Regions from separate parts of the Homo sapiens genome. Here region 2 is linked to region 1. The links are contacts of gene promoters, found by promoter capture Hi-C in blood cells and fetal thymus (Javierre and others, 2016). All regions are on one chromosome and are shown on one strand. The core of a region is centred on a gene start or on the middle of the fragment in contact, and the rest is flanking DNA. Distances in the headings are between cores, read along the strand shown. Region 1 holds the start of GRHL1 (grainyhead like transcription factor 1). Region 2 overlaps ODC1-DT (ODC1 divergent transcript).

Evidence for each region. Contacts are between HindIII fragments. The CHiCAGO score rates a contact against its expected background, and 5 or more counts as called.
Region 2: a contact is called between a fragment that was not itself captured here and the fragment with the promoter of GRHL1 in region 1, in 1 of 17 cell types (neutrophils). The highest score is 6.4, in neutrophils.

What each region holds. Positions count from the first base shown.
Region 1 is chr2:9,946,929-9,952,942 of GRCh38, forward strand. It overlaps GRHL1 (grainyhead like transcription factor 1), which reads left to right and starts at 4,765. Exons shown (of 16, transcript NM_198182.3): 1 at 4,765-4,925. The coding sequence starts at 4,906. LOC105373422 (a long non-coding RNA gene) reads right to left here and starts at 3,925. Exons shown (of 3, transcript XR_922784.4): 1 at 3,777-3,925. RefSeq lists silencers at 3,996-4,075, 4,226-4,275, 4,376-4,425, 4,516-5,055. The HindIII fragment of the contact is 14,804 bases long and covers 1-6,014 here.
Region 2 is chr2:10,450,328-10,456,711 of GRCh38, forward strand. ODC1-DT (ODC1 divergent transcript) reads left to right here. Exons shown (of 5, transcript NR_110597.1): 3 at 1,954-2,142; 4 at 3,542-3,731; 5 at 5,096-5,225. Among named protein-coding and RNA genes, the nearest start is that of ODC1-DT, 3.8 kb to the left of the region's middle. The HindIII fragment of the contact is 3,130 bases long and covers 1-2,815 here.

The DNA.
Region 1 (6,014 bases), core at 3,515-6,014:
CGGGTGTGGTGGCAGGTACTGGTAATCCCAGCTACTCTGGAGGCTGAGGCTTGAGAATCACTTGAACCCGGGACGTGGAGGTTGCAGTGAGCAGAGATTGCATCACTGCATTCCAGCCTGGGCAACAAGAGCCAAACTCCATCTCAAAAAACAAACAAACAAAAAACCAAATGGCAGCTGTGCATTCCCTTTTCTCAGTAACTCCGATTCTAGGAATTTATCCTATGGCAATACCTGATCAAGTGTGCAAAAATGTAGTTAGAGGAATGTGTTATTGTGAATGTTTGTAATTAAGAAAAGCTAGGGGAAAAAACCCTAATTGCTCACCAATACATTCAAGTTATCATATAGCCATTCAAGGAAACACCATACAGCCATTTTTTAAAGTGAACTAGATTTCTATGTGCTGATGTGGAAAATGTTTAAACCATAGAAAGGAAAAACAAGCAAGCTGTGGAAGATTGTGCAGTCCGAATCCCATTTGTCTAAGAAAATAAACCATGTGAGTGCTTGTACAGACAGAAGATATCTGGAAAGATCAACACAAATTGTTCACAGTGGTTGTCTCAAGGATTAGGGGCTGGGAATGGAGGAGGCCAGGGACTGCATTCTGTATCCTTCTGCAGAGCTTCAATTTCTTCCTTTCTCCTTTCTTTGTCCCGTTCCTAATCCCTTTCTATCTTTTTTTATTTTTGAGATGGAGTCTTGTTGTCACCCAGGCTGGAGTGCAGTGGCGCGATCTTGGCTCACTGCAACCTCCGCCTTCTGGGTTCAAGCGATTCTCCTGCCTCAGCCTCCCGAGTAGCTGGGAATACAGATACCCACCACCATGCCCGGCTAATTTTTGTATTTTTGTTAGAGATGGGGTTTCACCATGTTGGCCAGGCTGGTCTCAAACCCCTGACCTCAGGTGATCTGCCCACATCGGCCTCCCAAAGCTCTGGGATTACAGGCGTGAGCCAGCACGCCCAGCATTTTTTCTTCCATAAAAACTATGTGCATATATTACTTTAATAATTTAAACAAATAGTAAAGAACTTAAAAATGAAGAGGGTAGGCCAGGCATGGTGGTTCACATCTGTAATCCCAGCACTTTGGGAGGCTGGGAGGATGGGAGGATCGTTGGAGCACAGGAGTTCAAGACCAGCCTGGGCAATATGGTGAGACCCTGTCTCTACAAAACATACACACACACACACATACACACTAGCCAGGTGTGGTGGTGTGCACGTGTAGCCCCAGCTACTCAGGAGGCTGAGGTGGGAGAATCACTTGAGCCTGGGAAGTCAAGGCTGCGGTGAGCTGTGATGGTGCCACTGCACTCCAGCCTGAGTAACACAGTGAGACCCTGTCTCAGATAAAATAAAATGAAATAAACAGGGTTCATGGCAACAGGTCATAGATAGAGATTTTCATTTCTGTTTTAGAGAGCTATTAGAGACAAACTAAACAATCCCATATTCAAATTGACAAAATAGACCCAATGTTTTTAATTACTACAGCTATGGTCTAATAACCTCAGGCTCTTCCTGTTCTTGTTTTTGGCTTTATGATTGGATATTTCTTCATTCATCCCCTATTTATTTTGTGCCTACCATGTATTAGGCTCAAGGACTTTCATCTTCTGCAACGGTGGGGGGGGTCATTTAAAAGAGCCCTAGCTATGCTACAGAAGGGAGGAGACTGGGCGCAGAACGCATGCCTGCAGAGGACTGCATCCATTCAGTAGACATTTGCTGGATATTTTCTATGTATATACCAGGCACCAGGAACATAAAAATGAAGGTGGTACAACCGCTGCCCTCTCTGGAAAAGCTCACACTTGGTGGAGACAGACACAAACAGGAAAGCCCATAAGACAAACATGGTGATGGGCAATGCAGAAGGCGCTGTGGATCCCACAGGACACCTTGTCCAGCCTAGAGGGTTGGGAAGGCCACCTGGAGGAAATGAGCCAGGCTGGAAGTTGAGTGGAGTGGGCCAAGCATGGAGGGAAGGAGCAGGGAATGCGGGGACGGTGCTTGGGAGTGAGCAGTAAGGGAAGTGCTGGGCCGCCAAGGGGAGGCTGAGCTCAGGAGTGTGGACTTTATGGTGAGTATAACTGAGTGACAAGAAATCTGTGTTTTATAAAGGCCACTCCAGTGGCAGTGTGGAGCCGGGTCAGAGGAAATAGAAGAAAGGCAGGTAGAGGGACACTGTTCCCAAGTCAGTCACTTTGGCACCACCCTGATGACTTGTACCCTATTTGGGACCATCTGTGCTGTTATTGACTAGCATTTTTCTTAAATTAGCGTGCTTAGAAAACATAATTGATTTGGCAGGGCGCGGTGACTCATGCCTGTAATCCCAGCACTTTGAGAGGCCGAGGCGGGCAGATTGCCTGAGGTCAGGAGTTTGAGACCTGCCTGGTCAACTTAGTGAAACCCCATCTCTACTAAAAATAGAAAAATTAGCCGAGCGTGGTGGTGGGCGCCTGTGATCCTAGCTACTTGGGAGGCTGAGGCAGGAGAGTCGCTTGAACCCAGGAGGCAGAGGTTGCAGTAAGCTGAGATCACGGCACTGCACTCCAGCCTGGGCAACAGAGGGAGATTCCGCCTCAAAAAAAAAAAAAAAAAAAAAAAGGAAAAGAAAAAAATAATAAATGATTTAAACAGGAAACTAGTGGTAAGAACAAACAACAGGCTGCATGGATCCAGTGCTGGGCCCGGGGTCAGAGGACAGAAACTGCGAAGGGCGGTCTCAAGTGAGGCTGCCGATTCCGGTCCCTGAAGGCCTTGGACCAGGGCACAGAGGAGGGACTGCTGGCTGCAGGAGGGCCCTGTGACCTCATGCTGCTCCTCACTTCACCTCCTTCCCTTGGCTTCCACGCTTCCATTGCTTCCGACCTCGGTGTCCCCGTCTTCTGTCTCCTCCACTGGCTCTTCCTCCCAGCCTTTCTGTGTCGGAGGCTCCTGGATCCAGCATGGGTCCCATCCTCTTTCCTTCCTGCCTTCTCATGGCTTTAAATGGCCTCTAGACGTGGGCGGCGCCCAGATGTGAGCTTCAGCCCAGACTTCTCCCTTGCACTCCAGCCTCGTACCCAGGAGCCCACCTGATTCATGGATTTTTATCTCCCATACATCTTGAGCTTAGCACGTCCAAAACAGACTCTCGTTCTCCCCCAAATCTTCTATGCCCCAGGTCTTCTGTATCCCAGGGGATGGCAAATCATTCCTCCAGTTGCCCAGCTGGAAACGCTGTAGTCATCCTTGATTCTCTCTTTCTCTCACACCCCATATCCAATTTTCAGACAATCCTGCTGGTCCCACCTTCAAAGCATATCCAGAATTCGGCCACTTCCCACCACCTCACTCTATTGCCCTCGGCCTGCATCATGGCAATGGCCTCCTACCTGGTCCCCACCACGCAGCAGCAGAGAACTATTTTAAAATGTGAGACCCTGTCACTACCCTGCTCCAAGCCCCTCCAAGGCGTCCCCACCTAGCCCAGAGGGAAAGCCACAGTCCTTACGGAAGCCGGCAAGGCCCTGCTCAATCCGCTCCCCTGCGCCCACTATCTCTGACCGCAGCTCCCGCCTCCCTGTGCCCCACCAGCCACCCGGGTCTCCTCAAGGGTCACAAAACACACCAGGGTCCCTGCCTCAGGTACAGTCCCACCTTCGTGGCCCCTCATCTCCTTCAAGCCTGAAAGCCTCGCTCCTCCCCGCCTCCCCAGGGCCTGCCTGCTTTACCTTCCAACCAGCCACACCATTTACTTGTTTTTGTATTGCCCGTTACCCCAACTAGGAAGGCGAGGAGTTGTGTCTGTTCTGTTGACTGCCCTGTCCCCGGCGTCTGGGGCCGCGCCTGTCCGAGGGTCAGGTCCGACGCTGGGCATGTGGGGACTCAGTGAGCGGACCCTGGGAAAGACGGCAGCTCGGGAAGGACAAGTGGGGGCCGTCGCGGTGGAGTGGTGCCCGGGGCCGGCCCGGGGCGCGCGACTGCACGGGCAGCGTGGGGCGGCCGCGCGGGGAAGTGGCGCCCGGGAGGCTGCGGGGCACAGACATCGCGGAGCCCCAGGGACTGCCGCCGAGGGGACCGCGGGAGCTGCGAGGGCAAGAAATCCTAAAAGCGCGCGGCCGCGGTGGGCCAGGAGAAGGGACATTCCGGAGACGGCTCTCGGGGGAAGCCACGGGACTCGGGCGTGACAGCCTGCGAGAACCGAGAGGTGAGACGCGCGACCGGGGAGCGCGGCGACCGGCAGAGGCGCCCCCGCCGGGCGAGCGCAGGGGCAGCGCGGGGCGCTGGGGCCGGAACAGCGGGCAATGTGGGCACGGGGCGCGGAGGCCTGAGTGAGCGAAGAAGGAGGCGGCTGTACGGCCGGGGCTCGTCGCGAAGGGGATGGCCGGGGACGGCGGGGACGGCGGGGGCGGCGGGGGCGGTGGCGGGGCGCGAGCGGGGGCGCTCTCGGTGCGCGCGGAGGTTGGCGGGTGCGCGCCGCAGCCGCAGCGCTCCCTCTCCTGTCAGGGCAGGCGCGTACGGCCGCGAGTCGGGCGCGCAGCCCCGGGAGCGCAGTCCCGGGCGCAACCTCGCGGAACGCGCGGCCCCCGCCCCCCGCCCCGCGCCGCTCGTCCCCGTCAGCCCCGCCCCGGCGCTCTTCTCGCCGACCAATCAGGAGGCGCGACCGGCCTCCCAGCCCCGAGGCCTCGCCCCCAGCCGGCGCATCGCCAGCCAATGAGCGGCCGAGCCCGGCGCCCAGTGCGCGCAGCCCGCGCGGAGCCGGCTCAGAGCGAGAAAAGCAAACCCAACCCGTCGGGGCCGCCGCTCCGGACCCGCAGCCGCCGCCGCCGCCTCCTCCCCCCGGATCGGGTGTACTGTCCCAACCCGAAAGTCCAGTTCTGCGGCCCGGCAGCGGCGAGCGGGCGCGATGACACAGGAGTACGACAAGTGAGTGAGGCGCAGGAGTCCGGCCGCCGCGGGGGGGCCGCGCTGAGGGGCCGCACCTGCAGCGAGCGAGCCGGGCGCAGACCCGAGGCCGCGCGGGCGGGCGGGCGCGGGGCGCGAGCCGGGGGCCGCTGTCCACTCCACGCCGCCACGGCCTTTGCCCCTTAGCCCTGCCGTGCTCTTTGTTCGGTCGGAGCCTCGGGAGGAGAGACCCTGTCCTCGGGGAAACTCGACACCGGAGGGGCCACCCTCCTCCCCTCCTCCGCGGCCAGGTTGGGTCCCCTCGGGCGCGCACCTTGGGGTCCGGGCCCCCGGCGCGGTCGGGTGCGGCGCGAGGTCGGGGCGCAGCCAACGCCCCCGGGCCTCCCCGCCCCCCTCTCCTGCCCGGTCGGCCTCGGGAGCCTGGTGGGGCTCGCGCCGCGTCGGGACAGGTGGACTTCTCCAGGTAATCTGTGGTCTCAGGCTCGTCACTCGGCGACCTGCTGGAACCTCCAAAACAGAAATGTAGGGAAAGGTTGAAGTGCCCCGATGTCCGGGCGTTTTCTTTTCCCTGGCTGGCGGCATGAGTGGGAAAACGGCTGTAGGAGTTATTTTGCCACTTGCATCATTGATGGTAATTACAGATTACCGTGTTTTTAGTGCTCGAGAGAATCAAGAGGATGAAACTTTGAAATCCGGGTGTTAAACGAGAAAGTACTGTACAAGCTAATATGCTTTTTAGAGTGTGTGATTTAAAAGCGTATTTCGACAAATGTGAGGTGGTAGTGTAATAAGGCATGGGGGATTAACTGGGCGAGGGAGTTTTCTGTATTTTCTTTGCAGCTTTTCTGAAAATATAAAATTGTCCTAAAAATTTTAAAAACTTACTAAAGAAAAAACAGGGAAATCGCACCAGGCCAGTCAGTATATTTCAGATCAGGAAGTTTAAGGCAGATAGGTACCCCTCCCAGTTTCTTAGTTATTTGTGAAGGATCGGTTTTTGTCAGTGTGTTCTTTTTCTGGATGAGATAGATATTTTGTATGGAGTATCTTAAATGGATTACTCTTATGTTGTAGAATATGCAGTTAAATTATTGCCTGAAACATATTTCA
Region 2 (6,384 bases), core at 1-2,500, 500 kb after region 1:
CTGGAACGTAGAGGCCAGTTCTTGGCTCAGGGAGCCAGGAGGGCTCTGACTGTTGCACATACAAGCCACTCACACTGCTATCGCCCACATACCTTCCTCTCCCGCCAGCCCACCCCAAAGCCCAAACTCCTGCCCGCATGCTGGGAAGGTGAGCCCTTGCCTGGAGAGCCCAGCAGGGGAAATAGAAGGAGGGAAGGAGGCCTGCTCCTTCCCCGGAGCTCTGCTCTGCGGCTGCAGGAAGACCCGCAGAGGCCCTGGGCAGCAGAACTGTGGACAGCAAGGCTGGAGTTGTGAAACCCAACCACTCAGCTGGATTCCAGAAGCTCAGGTGGTGGTGACTAAACCTGGCCTTACTTAAAATGCATGACTTTATTGTCTTTCAATGTATTTTCAGTAAACTTCATCCTCTCCATTACTATTTTCTTTTCTTCGGAAACAAGCAACAGATCTTTGTAAAAAAAATACGTGATGCCACGCACTTAGGAATCACCCTCATGTGGAGATGAGATTTCTTTTTTATTTTTTTTTTCTGAGAGTCTCACTCTGTTGCCCAGGCTGGAGTGCAGTGACGTGATCTCGTCTCACTGCAACCTCTGCCTCCCAGGCTCAAGCGATTCTCATGCCTCGGCCTCCTGAGTAGCTGGGATTACGGGCATGTACCACCGTGCCCAGCTAATTTTTGCATTTTTAGTAGAGATGGGGTTTCGCCATGTTGGCTAGGCTGATCTCAAACTCCTGACCTCAAGTGATCCACCCACCTCGGCCTCCCAAAGTGCTGGGATGACAGGCGTGAGCCACTGTGCCTGGCCAGAGATGAGACTTCTATGTGTGGTGCTAAAAGAGTGAATAAAAACATTAGATACTACACTGGACATGCTTCTAAGAGCTTAGTCATCTCACCTAAGTTCTGGGACCAACTCCCATTTTCTTAGGATTCCTTGGGCCCCCTTACCACCCCCCCGCCGCTCTGCCCCGCTCATTATGAAAGTTTGGACATCACTCTGTCTCTCTGGGTTCCAGACTACCTTTCTGAAAATGGGGTGGTTGGACTGGCTGAAAGCTCAGGTTCTTCTTTCCTTCTAATGTTCTAAGAATCTACTTATTTCACAGAGTTCTGTATAAATCCACTGACCAAGTTTTCTAAACCAAAACCAAAAACATGTCTGATGAAGGAAGTATCTTTTTTCTTCTTTGCTAACTTACATGAAAAGGCTTATAAAGGTATATAGTGATTGCAGACTTAAGCAGTCACCCTTATCATTATTATTATTATTATTTGAGTCAAGAGGCTTGCTCTGTTGCCCAGGCTGGAGTGCAGTGGCGCAATACTGGCTCACTGCAACCTCTGCCTCCCAGTTTCAAGCAATTCTCCTGCCTCAGCCTCCTGAGTAGCTGGGAATCCAGGCGCCCACCACCACATCCAGCTGATTTCTCTATTTTTAGTAGAGATGGGGTTTCACCATGTTGGCCAGGCTGGTCTCAAACTCCTGACCTCAAGTGATCTGCCTGCCTTGGCCTCCCAAAGTGCTGGGATGATAGGCGTGAGCCACCGCGCCTGGCCTCACCCTTATCAAAAAGAAGTAGGTCACATAGAAGACAATAACCAGCAAGCATTTGTGTATCCATTTACTCAGTATTGGAAAGTTTGACATTGAGAGCTTTCTGGAAAATGGGTTTGGGCGCTGCTTACGTGTCCGTGGTTGTACTCTACTTCACCAAACTTCTTCCAGAAGCATAGAAGAGTGGACTGTGGAGTGAGGCTCATGACCTCCAGCCCCATGAGGACTTTGGGAGGTTAGCTTCTGCCCTGGCAAGGGTGCCCTAACTCAGGACACCTGGGTAATGGGGACTAGTCACAGATGCTCTAGTCCCATCTGGATGTTTGGCCAAAAATAGTTTTCCTTAGCTCAGTCACTCACCAGTCCTTTAACCTTGCCCTTTGAATGGTTTTAGGTGTTTCCGAAAAATCCAATCCACCCTCCAAGGTGGAAAGTGTGCCATCTCTGCCCATAATCCAAATGGCGTGCCTGAGGCATAGAAAGCAGCTTTCAGGGAGGCCTTCCTTCCTCTGAGCAATGGTGGCATCATCAGAAAAGTGGAGCTCCTCCAAAAGGATCTGCTGGAAGCAGAGGACGCCCATGTGTAAGTGGAAGTCCCAGGATGTTTGTTTTATAAAGTGTTACATCACGGCCCTACCTTGCCCCAGCCCTGGTGTGGCTCACTGGGAAGCTGCTGGGAAAGGAGCCAAATAGGAACTAGGCCAGGGCCTCCTGGAGCCCAGAAGGGCCCTGGGGGCAGGTCAGTGGGCACACACAGTTGCAGAGAAGAGGGGGCCCTTGTCTGGAGGCTGAGAGTTTGGAAGAGTACTTTTTTTTTTTTTTTTTGAGACACAGTCTTACTCTGTCACCCAGGCTGGAGTGGTGCAGTGGCACAATCTTGGCTCACTGCAGCCTCTGCCTCCTGGGTTCAAGTTATTCTTATGCCTCAGCCTCCTGAGTAGCTGGGACTACAGGCGTGCACCACCACTCCTGGCTAATTTTTTGTATTTTTAGTAGAGACAGGTTTTCGCCATGTTGGCCAGGCTGGTCTCAAATTCCCGACCTCAAATGATCCGCCCGTCTCAGCCTCCCAAAGTGTTGGGATTACAGGTGTGAGCCGCCGCACCCGGCCTGGAGGAGTTCATTTTCATGGGGAAAGTGATGTTTATCATTATTTTGCTTCCCACTTCCTTGTCTTTTTCAGTGGGCAGAAGTCAGAGTCCCATTAAGCCTGTACCGAGTCAGTATTCAGACATGCCATCCGACACGTGGACAGAAGCTTTGCCATCTGCCTACTTGGCTTGTCTGTTTCAAGCCCTTCACTGGTGGCCCTGGGTCCACAGAGTAAAGTCCAAACACCTTAGCCTGGCACCCAGGACCCTCTGAGGCCTGCCCTGCCCACCCTCCCAGCCTCTTTTGCCACTCCAGCTCCCTGAGCCACTGATGTTCCACAGACCCTGCCCCTGCCATCGTAACGTGGGTCACGTGGTGTGGGCACCTTTGTTTCCTGCCTCCATCCTGCCTTCCCCTCCCCGCAACTCTCCCTTTGAAATCAGGACCATGATTTTCTTCTCTCCATATGTTCAGTTTCTAGCCTGGTTCCTGGCTCACAAAGCCATTCAATATTGTCAAGTTGAAACTGGGTTTAGTAGCACCTGTGGGCTATTGGGAACAAAAGAAAGCAAGCGAGGCTGTGCTGAAAAGTGGTCATTTGTGGTTGCTATACGAGTGATTAGCTCAGGAGAATTTCTCCCCACGTGCTATCTAAGATTAGGGGAACAAAAGACCCTGGGTGTTCTTCCTTTAGTCAGTTGTTTGTTGATTCATTCCATACGTGTCTGCTGAGTGCCACCTGTGTGCAAGTGGCAGGCAGGACAAGGGAGGACCCTCTGTGGCTGGGCCGGGTTCCTGGGGACCAGCAGGGAATTGATAAGAGCCAAGAGAAGCCTCGCTTTTACCCAGTGCCTAAGGAAACTGCCTCTTTTGTTTTATTTTCTCCTAAGCGCCTGGTGACTCCCTCTGACCCAACAAGTTGCAGCACCTCTGCTGGGCTTTGCCACTGCCCCATTTTTGCCAGAGCCTCACCCTGGTGGGGCCCCACCTCTGGGAAGCCCCAGCGCCTGCAAGATTTTTTCCTCTCGTGACAGGGAGCAGCATGCGGAGGGCCCTTGCACAACCTGGGTCTTCAGGAAGGTGAGTGCTCTGCCCAGGGGCAGTGTGAGCTCTGCGTCCCTGCCAAGTCAGAGGCGGGACCATCCGAAGGGCCTGTGGCTGGGGTCTGCTACACCGAGCCTTGCGGGCCCTCCAAGGGGTAGGGTACCCTGAGGGCAGTGCTCCCTGTCTCTGTTCTAACAGCTGTGAGCACTTGCTCTGTGCCAGCGCCCCTGCCAGGTGCCAGGGAGAAGGAGGGGAGGCCAAGGAGGTCCCTGTGCTCCAGGAGCTCATGGTCCAGAGGGGAGGCTGCCCCCAGGCTTGTGCTCTCTAGGTTCTGGTCCCTGGGACAGTGGTCACACAGACAAAGGAGGTGGACGCAGCCGAGGGAGCAGGGGCCTGGGTTTGGAAAGGCTCGTCCAGGGCCAGGGAGAGTTAGGGAGGGGCCTGCAGCACCCAGGGCAAGAATAAGACCTGTGGGCACCAAGGGAGGCTCCCGCCCACAAGCCCAGCTTTCCTCTGGGAGAGGACTGAGGGCTGTGAAGGGGAGAGCAGAGGAGGAGTCACTCTGGGGAGCAGCCTCTCACCCCCAGGGGCTGCTACTTCACCCAGCTCCAGCCTCCATCAGTCCATCCAAATCCTGGCTGACAGCAGGGCCCCGCCATCGTAGAAGGCAGGTCGGCCTCCACATGCGGGCACAGAATGTTTCCCTTTGGCATTCCATGCCCTGTATGGCTCAGGGCCCAGGCAGGCAGTTCAGCAGAGGGAATTTAGCAAGAGAACTAGTTACAGAGATGACATGTCTTACAGCTGCAGGAAGCCACTATCACCCAGAGGACTGGGGATGAAAGGGGACGAGGGTCCCCAGCAGCGTGGCAGCCACCTGTGGGCTGTCCCAGAGAAACCCACTGACCACCAAGGGCAAGCAGCTAGTGCTGGGGAGGCTGCGAAGCCAAGAGAGGGAGAGGGAGATGGAGACAGAGAGGAGGGACAGGAGCCAGCTCTCCCCTCCGCCCATCCTCCAGGCTCCCACCAGCACTTCCCAGTCAGAAGCCTGTTGACAAGAGATCCCGGTCAGTGTCATTTTCCAAGGCCAGCCCTGTCCACTCCACCAGAGAAACAGCAGAGGCACAGTGGGAGTGGGGAATGGGTCTGAGAGCGGGCGGGCAAGGGCAGGCTCGGCCCCTTGGCGGTAGGCCCGTCAGAGTCTTCCTTCTGCCTTCTTGTAGGACAGTTTCTAACCAGAGTTCTGGTAAGCACTGGTGACATTTCACATTGGCTTAAGCAATAAGGAAAAGCAGTCATCTCACGTAGCAACGTGGCTTGGGGAAGGGAGTCTCCAGTTTCATGTATTCGGAGCCTCAAGAACAACGTTGAAGACCTGGATTCTTTTCCTGTTTTTGCAGTTCCTTGCCCAGGTGTTGGCCCAGCTCTCTTCATGGTTCCAAGAAGGCTGCCCCAGGAAGGCTTGTGGACAGAGGGAGAAGCATCTCTTCCTCTATGTCTCTTTTTATCTAAGAAACCAGTTTGACCAGCATCCTTCCCCTCGGCTCCCCAGGAGGAATGCACGGATCCCTTCGCCTTCCCCCATCCCTCCATGGTTGACTAAACCCACTAGGATCCACTCTTTTGCGTGGAAATGGGTTCAGGCCTCCCACGAAGAGCATGAAGATGCCCTCTGTTATGGGTTACATTATGTCCCCTGCCCCCGAGACCGTATGTTGAGTCCTAACCCTAGTATTGCAGAACGTGAATTTATTAGGAGATAGGGTCTTTATGGAGGTCATTAAGTTAAATGAGGGTGTTAGGGTGGGCTGGTGTCCTGATATAAAGGGGAAATTTGGGGCTGGGTGTAGTGGCTCACACATATAATCCCAGTGCCTCGAGAGGCCAAGGCAGGAGGATTGCTTGAGGGCAGGAGTTCAAGACCAGCTTGGGTAACATAGGGAGACCGGTATCTATAAAAAAAATTAAAAACAAAAAAATTAGCCGAGTGTGGTGGTGCATGCCTGTAGTCCCAGCTACTCAGGAGGCTGAGGTGGGAGGATCGCTTGAGTCCAGGAATTTGAGGCTGCAGTGAGCCATAAAAAGATGGGGGACGATGGAGACGCACAGGGAAAACACCTTGTGAATGCGGCAGAGATAAGGGTGATGCCTCTACACACCGAGGAACTTCAGAGACAACCAGTAAGTCACTGGGAGCTCGGGGAAGGCACAGCGCAGATGCTCGCTGCCCTCAGAGGGAAGCCAGCCCGCCAACCCCTTGATCTCAGACCTCTGGCCCCTGGAACTGTGAGATGATAGATTTCTGTCGTTTAAGCACAGTGGTGCTGTGTTATAGCAGCCCTAGGGAACCATCCACTATCAGAACAAAAGCAGGGCTGGACTGCTAGAAGAAAGGAGAGGAGAATGGCAGAGGATACCCACCTTGGGGCTGAATCTGAGATCACTCCAGGGCTCCCCAGGTTGTTTTGAAGAATGGAGATGGATTTGTGCAGGGCTCACTGTAGAAGCTCAGTGCAGCATGCGACGCTTATAAGGCTGCAATCCCCAGAGCTCAGTCCCTGAAGAGCGCTGCATTCACAGACATCAGCCAGCAGACAAACCAGTACCTATTGTCCCTGACCCCCAGAATCCAGCAGACATATAAAAGATGGTTGTTAACCCCACTAAGTTTTGGGGTAATTTGTTATGC